Linked DNA regions of Homo sapiens: region 1 is linked to region 2. Evidence: promoter capture Hi-C in human tissues and cell types (Jung and others, 2019). All regions are on one chromosome and are shown on one strand. The core of a region is centred on a gene start or on the middle of the fragment in contact, and the rest is flanking DNA. Distances in the headings are between cores, read along the strand shown. Region 1 has its middle 72 kb from the start of TMEM132E-DT. Region 2 holds the start of TMEM132E (transmembrane protein 132E).

Region 1 (4,101 bases), core at 800-3,299, 72 kb before region 2:
TATAATGGAAAACTACTCAGCAATAAGAAGGAACAAACTACTGATACCTGCAGCCGTATCATAGATAAATCTCAAATGCATTTTACTAAGTGAAAGAAACCTGACCCAAAAGGCTTTATACTGTATGTTTCCACTTATATGACTTTCTGGAAAAAGGAACACTATAGGGATAAGTACAATATTAGTGACTGTCAGGGAGATGCTTAGGGGAACAGGCTACAAGAGAATTTGGGAGACTGATGACAGTATTCTGTATCATGATTGTGGTGGTGGATTCATGATATTGTGCATTTGTAAAAAACCCACAGAACTGTACACTACAAAGAGTAAATTTTTCTGGATGCAAACCTAAAAATAAATTCTAAGAAAATGAAAACACAAAGCCAAAAAAAGTTAATGTGGCCATTTTTACACGTTAAAATGGCTGCATCAAATGGCCCTAGTCAACTGTTCTGCTTTAGACCCCTCTTCCCTAGATTTCTGTGCATTTCAAGTCTCTGGGATGTAGACAGGAAATTTTTCAGAAGGAACAGAGAAGTTATTGAGGATGCCTCCTCTCTCCTTCATCTTCTTTCATCTCCCATTTAGTCTGTGGAGCAGGTGAGTCTGCAGAGATGGAGAATCCTTCTGCTGGAATAGCCTGAGCAGGCTCTGAGCAGTAAGGAAGTGGCATGCATGGAGCTGGCTGTTCATCATGGAGGTCAAGGGGACCTTGGATTTCCTTCTGCTTTGTCCAGCCTAAATTCTAGAGCAAAGAGGCAAACATGGAGTCAGGACAGAATTCCAGTGCATGTGGATCCTGCTGAGGAAGGAATCCCCTATAAAACACAACAGCAGAGAAAAGGAAAGGAAAGAGGTAGTGTGGCACATAGATTCTCAGTATTGGTACCCATTTTCCAGTTTGGTCTGCCAATCCCATCTTCTCATTTTCTTTCTATGTAATCTTGAGCAAATTGCTGGTTAAGGTAAGTTGTAGTTTTTCCTGGGTTTCTTCCTCTGTAAAACTGGAAAAATAATCATACCTATTGAGATTATTACGTGAGTTAATAGCCATTCATTGACTCAACACGTATTTATTGAGTATCTATTATGCACCTATCACTGTCTTATGTGCTTCACATACAGATAAGAGACTAGAAATTGACAAAATGGGGGATGCCAGTTTATACAGAATAATCAGGGAAGGCTCACCAAGGAGGTGAGATTTGAGCAGAGACCTGAAGGAAGTGAGAGAATGGGCTGGGAAGGGCAGAGGTCCACACAGAGGGAACAGCCTAGGCAGACTCTGAGGCAGGAGCATGCTTGACAGAGCTGAGGAAGAGCCAAGAGGCCAGTGTGGCTAAAGAGGGAAATGCCCTTTTTTTATAGGATAGAAATGAGACCAGAGAAATAGTGAGAGATCGGATAATGAGGGGCCTGGAGATGTCCATTGTCTGTGCATTGTCTATTATTCAGAGTAAGATAAGAAATCACTGAAAGCCTTTGAGGAGTGGCATGATCTGACTTGTGTTCTAAAAGAATCTCTCTGGGCAGTTTGTGAAGAATAGACAGTAGGGCAGCAAGGGCAAAGTCAGGGAGCCCAGTTAGGAAGTTATTGCATGATCCAGAAGAGAGATGATGGTAGCTTGAACAGATAGAAACACATATATAATACTTAGAACAGACCCTGGCACATACAAAGTGCTCAGTCAATGCTATCTATAATTATTATTGCTGGCATCATCAAATTCATCATCATCATCTAGGGTAGGAGGTCAGGAAAAGTCTTAACCATCCTGCGTTCCCAGCAGGAACAAATCCCAGACCCTGCTGAACCCCACATGAGGCTGTGTGAACCTGGGGACCCACTTCGGAAACTCACAGGCTCTGGGTTAAGGTTTCACACACTGCCTCCTCCCTCCCACCTCAGTTCCCTGAGAGCAGTGACAGGGCTTTCTGACACACACAGTACTTTAGTTTGGGGGAAGAAGCAGATGGAAGAAGCCTGGGTGCAGTAGAGCTCCTAAGCAAGGATGGGAAACACAAAAGAAAATAGCCTGGCAGGGCGTGGTGGCTCATGCCTATAATCCCAGCACTTTGGGAAGCTGAGGCGGGTGGATTGCCTGAGCTCAGGAGTTTGAGACCAGCCTGGGCAACATAGTGAGACCCTGTCTCTACAAAAAAAAAAAAGAAATAGCCAGGCACCTGTAGTCCCAGCTACTCGGGAGGCTGAGGTGGAAGGATTGCTCGAGCCCAGGAGGTTGAGGCTGCAGTGAGTTGTGAATGCACCACTGCACTCCAGCCTGGGAGACAGAGCGAGACTCTGTCAAAAAAGAAAGAAAGAAGGAAAGAAAGAAGGAAAGAAAGAAAGAAAGAAAGAAAGAAAGAAAGAAAGAAAGAAAGAAAGAAAGAAAGAAAGAAAGAAAGAAAAGAAAGAGAGAGAGAGAGAGAGAAAGGAAAGGAAAGGAAAGGAAAGGAAAGGAAAGGAAAGGAAAGGAAAGGAAAGGAAAGGAAAGGAAAGGAAAGGAAAGGAAAGGAAAGGAAAGGAAAGGAAAGAAAGGGGCCCAAGCTGAGCACAAGTTGTTGCTGTCTCATGTGGTCATCTCATTTCATCCAAAACGCATTCTGAAGTAGTTACCTCCATTCCTCATAAAAGAAAAGAGGACCTGAGAAAAGTGAACTGCCCAGGTATTAGTAGGAGACCCAGGATTCTGACTTGGGAGCAGTGGAACACCCAAGAACCTCTGTTCCCCAGTGGGCAGCTCAGCCTCCCCAGGTAGATTGTGTACATTCTCTGACTTAGGGCTAAGGGCTCCAAACAGGACTGAGACCAAAAGTCACACTTCTGAGTGCCTCCCCACATCTGAATCTCCAGTACATAGAACCAAGCAGTTCTGAAATCACACTTTCCTTTGCTCCTTTGTTTACAAAGATAAGATGTCTTCTTCTTCATTATAGAAAACAGTGGTTTTTCATAAACTGTTATCTCTATTGGCCATTGTTTTTTACAAACACAACAATGATATGCTCTCACCTGATAGAATTTTCCAAATTAATTTCAGAGAAAACCACCTATCTGTGCCAAGGAACTGAACCTCCAATATTCCTGGAAAATATTTGGCCTTTCCTTTCTAACAAAGAAGCCTATCAAGGCTTTTTCTATCATAGTTAACCTATAAAACATCATGTATAACTGTGTCAAAAAAAAAAACTGAGTATCCTTAGGAAAAAGGCTAATTCTAAAACCAGGAGAAGAAAAAGTACAAAATAAACTAGAAACAAGGAAACTACCAAACATTATCAAAGATTATTGGATTTCTGTCAAAATGTCAAGGGAACCAAAATAACTAGGCTCCCATTGGTCAAAGATGGTATAATTTAAGCATCAATAAGAACAATAACTACCCTGTATTAAAATACATCAAAATGTTTAAATTAGTGAGTTTATTATGATACTTGTTTTGAAAAGTGGCAAATAAAGGGAAAAAAGTCAAACATTTATCCTGCCTTTCCTACACAAATGATACCACTGGGTAACCAAATACTTTATAAGAAGAAATTTATATAGAAGTATCACAGTCCTAATAAATGATAAATAAATAATAACAAATAAATGATAAATGAAGAATGAATAACTGCTGTATCATTTTGTAGCAACTAATGGATTAGTAGAACTAGGAAAGACAACTAGACATTGATACCTCCCCATAGAAGAACACAAGACCACCTGTGTAGTGACCTTGGCAAAAATAAATCAAACCTTAATCTGATCAAGCTTCCAGATATATCCAGCTCCCCACCTATAGGAAATTTAGGGATACAGGAATCCACCATAGCATTCAGTAAAATCAGATTATGGGAAAATCTACAGGAAAAAGGACCCAGCAAGAAGGAAAAAAAGATTGGAATTGGAAGTGAAAACTGTAGATTAAAGGAAAGTTAAGAGACATGCCAATCAAAACAGATAGGTCTTATTGGATCTTGATAATAGCAAGTACAAAACAAAAAAGTCTATGAGACAATGAAGGCAATGTCAACACTGATTAGGTATTTGATGACATTAAGGAATTACTGTGATTTTTTTGGTGGGTGTTTGCATCAATTAGCTATTGCTGAATAACA
Region 2 (4,139 bases), core at 1,560-4,059:
GAACTGGTGACTGAGATAACCTCCAACCATTGCCAATCCTCTGTCCAGAAGACACAAACAGAATGGAAACAGCAGAGACACTACCACCTTAAGTTGATAAGGTGCTCATCTGGGATAGAAGAGTACACACATGCCAGGTCCTCTCTCCAGCCCGGGCTCCAGTTGGGGTGGCTCCTCTGACTTCCCCTTATCTAAGCTCCAGTGGCATTGCTGTTTGGGAATCCGTAACTAGGACTAACAGGTGAGACCGAGGGCAGTCTGCTGGGGTAGTAGGAAAGGCAGAGGGAATGTATAGAACCCCTTTCCAGGTAAATGACATGCAGGATTGGAATAGCTGAAACAACTGGCTGTCTACCTTGTGCCAACTGCCTTCTCTCTGAGCAGTAGGATTTACACTGCTGAGAATGACAGGTCCATGGAGCACTGCAGGTTGTAGTCATATTTTATTCTCCAGGTGGGCTATCGGCTGCCCTTCACTTCCCTGAGGCAAGGAGGAGGAAAATCTGGCATTTGGAGAGTCAGAGGATCATCAGGCCCATGGACTTGGCACAAGGCTTCAATCCAGGAAGGGTAGATCCATATCGGAGGTACAGGAAGAACTTGAGGCTGAAACTGTGTTCTCTAAAGATAGCAGGCTGCTCCCTCGCCCTTTCCAACCACAGGCCTCAGTCTTCTCCATAAGATGAGCGAAGTGCATGATGCCAAATCACACCACAATTGCAAGCAATTAGAAGCTTAGTGTCTGCCTTCCCCTCTAGAAAGTTAGTTCCATGAGGACAAGAGCTGGTTTTGTCCTGCTCACTGTTGTACCTACAATGCCTGTGATGTTGGAGATATGCACCATACTACTGTGAAAGGGAGGGACAGAGACAGGGAGGGAGGAGGAGAAACTGAATCACAAAGGAAGGTCACATAAGAGCTATGGGGTGGGGTGAGATGGGGTTGCAGAGAGAAGAATTCTATGTCTGAGTCCCTGCCCACCCTGACCAGAACACTGTGCTATTTCCACAGATGGCTGGGAGAGATGCAACATTGCTGCCCCTCAGACCCTAGCGTCAACTGGGAACATTTGAGGAGAAAGGAAATTTGATCCACAACACAGGGTAAGGTGTGTCTTGGGCTCAGAAAAGCACCTTGTCTCTTCCTTCTGGCCATGCTCAGGCTCCATGACCCTTCTGATGGGGTGCTGGGCAGGGATGGAGGGCCCTCCCTGCTTCCTTCCTCCTCTTCCTGAAGCCCTCCTCTGCCTCAGGAGGTGGATCTTTCCCCCTTTCTCCCCCACACAGAGCCTGATTGCTAGCTTGCTTCTCAGGGGGTTGGTGAATAAGCCCTTGGGTGACATTAATTGCCATCAGGCATTAGGGGCCTAATGAGAATAATCTTCTTTGACGACTCCAGCACCTTCTATCCCCAGGGCCTCCAAGAGCTGGCCAGCTCTCCTCAGGCTGCACCTCCCCCCAGCTCCAGACAGATGTAGGGGTGGGGGAAGGGCCAGAGCAGCCCTCTACAGGCCCCAGTACCAAGCGAGGCAGCAACAGCCAGCAGCCAGGGAGGAGGAAGCCTTCCATGAAAAATGCAAGCACATTTTCCAAAAACAAAATGTCACCGTCCTAGATGAAAGGAAACTCTCAGGGTCAAGAGGGCTAGCATGGAGTCAGGCAGATGGAGGGCACGGTTTGAGTGCCCCAGCTGGCTTTGCTCTGACCTGGCCCCACACTCTCACTCCAGTTGAGTGCAGAGGTATGGAAGGGTGACCCTCAAGATCCATATCCTCCCCAGTAGGGATATGTCCATGGGATTGAAGACCCTGTCCCTCCAGAGCAGGGTAGGATTGAAATTCACCCTCTGGGGATTGGAGTTGATACCCAACGAAGCTATAAAATCATTGCCATGGATCCGATGCCTGGTTGACAGATGAGGTGTGAAGGTTGACTTGCCGGGTCTGATCTAGGTTGCACTCTAATGGAAAGGGCCTGATGGTGGGAACAGATATCACTCCAGCCACCCCTCCCGCTAGTCAGCAGGTGCCTGGGTGAGTATGCAAGAGGGGCAGTTCCCCACCCCCACCTCATGCCTCTTTAAAGGCTTGCTAAACAACCTGTAGGAAAGCACTGTCCCCTCCTCTTCTCCGTCTTCCTTCCCCAGCAACAGAATAAATAGGTTTCCCACAGCTGCGCCCCGGACCCATCCCGCACGAAGCTGAGCCCCAGAGCCCCCGCGGCCCGAGAGGAGCTGGGCACAGCAGCGAGGCTGATTCCCAGCCAGTGCCCAGCGAACTCTGGGGGTGGGGGTAGGGTGCCCCCTACCCGCGCCTCTGGAAGAGCGGCTGCAAAACACCTCCGGCGCCCGGTGGGGAGCGTGCATCCTTTGAAAAGGGACATCAGTGACTGCGGTGGCGTCTACCCTGGAGAAACGCAGCTGAGGGAGGTGGAGGCTCCTCCCGCCGCAGCTGGCCGGCCCCATTCGGGTCCCAGCGCTAGCCGGCGTTGGGAAGGAAAAATCAAACATAAAATAGGGGCGAGCGGAATCGCGAGGTCGGCCCTTGGCCCGAGTCTCATTAAGGAGCCGCGCGCGCCGCCAGGCTAGGAATGCGGAATGGACACGTGGACAGAGGAGGGGGAGCTAGGAGTCGGGGAGTCTCCGTGGCGCGCGAGCTGTGGGCCGCGCGCTCGGGGGCCACGTGACCACGGGGAATCTGGGAGGGGTGGGAGTGAGCGCGCCAAGCTCGGCGCCCGCTTCTGCCCGGGTGGGCGCTGAATCCCGGACGGAGGAGGAGGGCGGGCGAGCGCGAGTGTGTGTGTCTCTCTCGAGTCATTTACGGCGGAGCAGCCGGCGCGAGCGCCGAGGAGGCGGCGACGGCGGCGGCGGCTGCTTCGTGCAACTGTGGCTTCCCCCACCTCCTCTTCCTTTTTGCTCCTCGATTCTTCTTCTTCCCCCACACACGTCCATGGGGAGCCGGCTCCCCTGCCAGCACCTCCTCTCCTCTCGGCCCCGTAGGCACCAGCTGCCGCTTCCCTGGCCGCAAGCTGCGCAGGTGCCGGCTGCCCTGGCCCCTGGCGCCGCGCCCGCGTCTCACCGCCCGCAGCCCGGACTGGCGCGGCGATCCGCTCGCCCAAACTGACTCGGAGGGAGCGGGAGCCGATGCCCGGCAGCATCGAGACAGCGGGCGAACGGGCGTCCGGGGACAGGGTGGGGGCGGCGGGGAGGAGGCGTCGGAGACTCTGAACCCCAGAAAAGTTCAAGGTTTGTGCAGGTTCCCCCAGGGAAGGCGAGGAGCGAGGCGGGGCAGCGCGCCTCTCTGCCGAGACAGCGAGACCTTAGCGGGGTGGCCCGGAGCTGCCGTGAGCTGCAGGAGCCCCTCTGCATCTTACAGCGTTTATGGTCATCAAGCTGGAGTCGACGTCCTGGGCAGGAAGGGCTCGGGGCAGGGCGCATTAGCCGGCTTTCTCGCTCCCTCGCTTCTCCAAGCCCCATCTACATGGGGCAGCCCGTTCTGGCCGCGCCACCCTTGCCCCAGCCGCCGAGCGGCTGCCTGGGCAGGAGGCGCTGAGCCGGCCTGTGTGGAGCCTGGGCCCTGATCCAGACTGGAGAAAGCGCGCTGGAGCGGAGGAGCGAGCCTTGCGAGGGGACAAACATCTGGCCGCCCGCCTCGGGCATCCGGTCTGGGCGTCGCCTAGGGTGGTGGCGACCGGCGTCGCCAGTTTCAGCACCGCACGGAAACTTTTCCTTCTCCAGATGGATTAAAGTTGTCTGGATTTTCTCTTTCTTTGAGAAAGACAGCATTCATTTGCACCTGACCTGGGATTTTTATGCTGGGCTGCTGCAGGGGCTTGGAGGAAGAAAGCGGCGCTATCCATGTGCGGTTACTACCGAAACCGAGGAAACTGGGGATTGCGTTGGAAGTCGGCACCCTCGAGTGAGTTCGGATTCGAGCTGGGCCGTGAGGCCGGGAGATTCAGCACTGGGCTCTAGGTAGCCCCCGGGACGCCCGCGGCCACCGGGCTCCGGACTGCACGTGCAGCTCCCCCCGCGCCTCGCAGATCCTGCAGGGGGCACCAGCTGGGGGAGGTGGAGGCTCCTCCCGCCCGGAGCTGCGCCCCCACCGGCTCCGAGGGTGTAGCCGCCAGCGCCTGGGACGC

The links. The method cuts DNA at HindIII sites, captures the fragments that hold promoters and counts their contacts. A contact is called where the count stands out against the background at its distance.
Region 1: a fragment that was not itself captured here is called in contact with the fragment with the promoter of TMEM132E in region 2 in 3 of the 25 tissues and cell types used here (IMR-90 fibroblasts, liver and spleen).

What each region holds. Positions count from the first base shown.
Region 1 is chr17:34,505,634-34,509,734 of GRCh38, forward strand. No RefSeq gene overlaps it. Among named protein-coding and RNA genes, the nearest start is that of TMEM132E-DT, 72 kb to the right of the region's middle. The HindIII fragment of the contact is 6,433 bases long and covers 1-4,101 here.
Region 2 is chr17:34,576,773-34,580,911 of GRCh38, forward strand. TMEM132E (transmembrane protein 132E) reads left to right here and starts at 2,810. Exons shown (of 9, transcript NM_001304438.2): 1 at 2,810-4,139. TMEM132E-DT (TMEM132E divergent transcript) reads right to left here and starts at 2,597. Exons shown (of 2, transcript NR_160787.1): 1 at 2,099-2,597; 2 at 1-848. RefSeq lists enhancers at 1,762-2,298, 2,299-2,834. The HindIII fragment of the contact is 28,166 bases long and covers 1-4,139 here.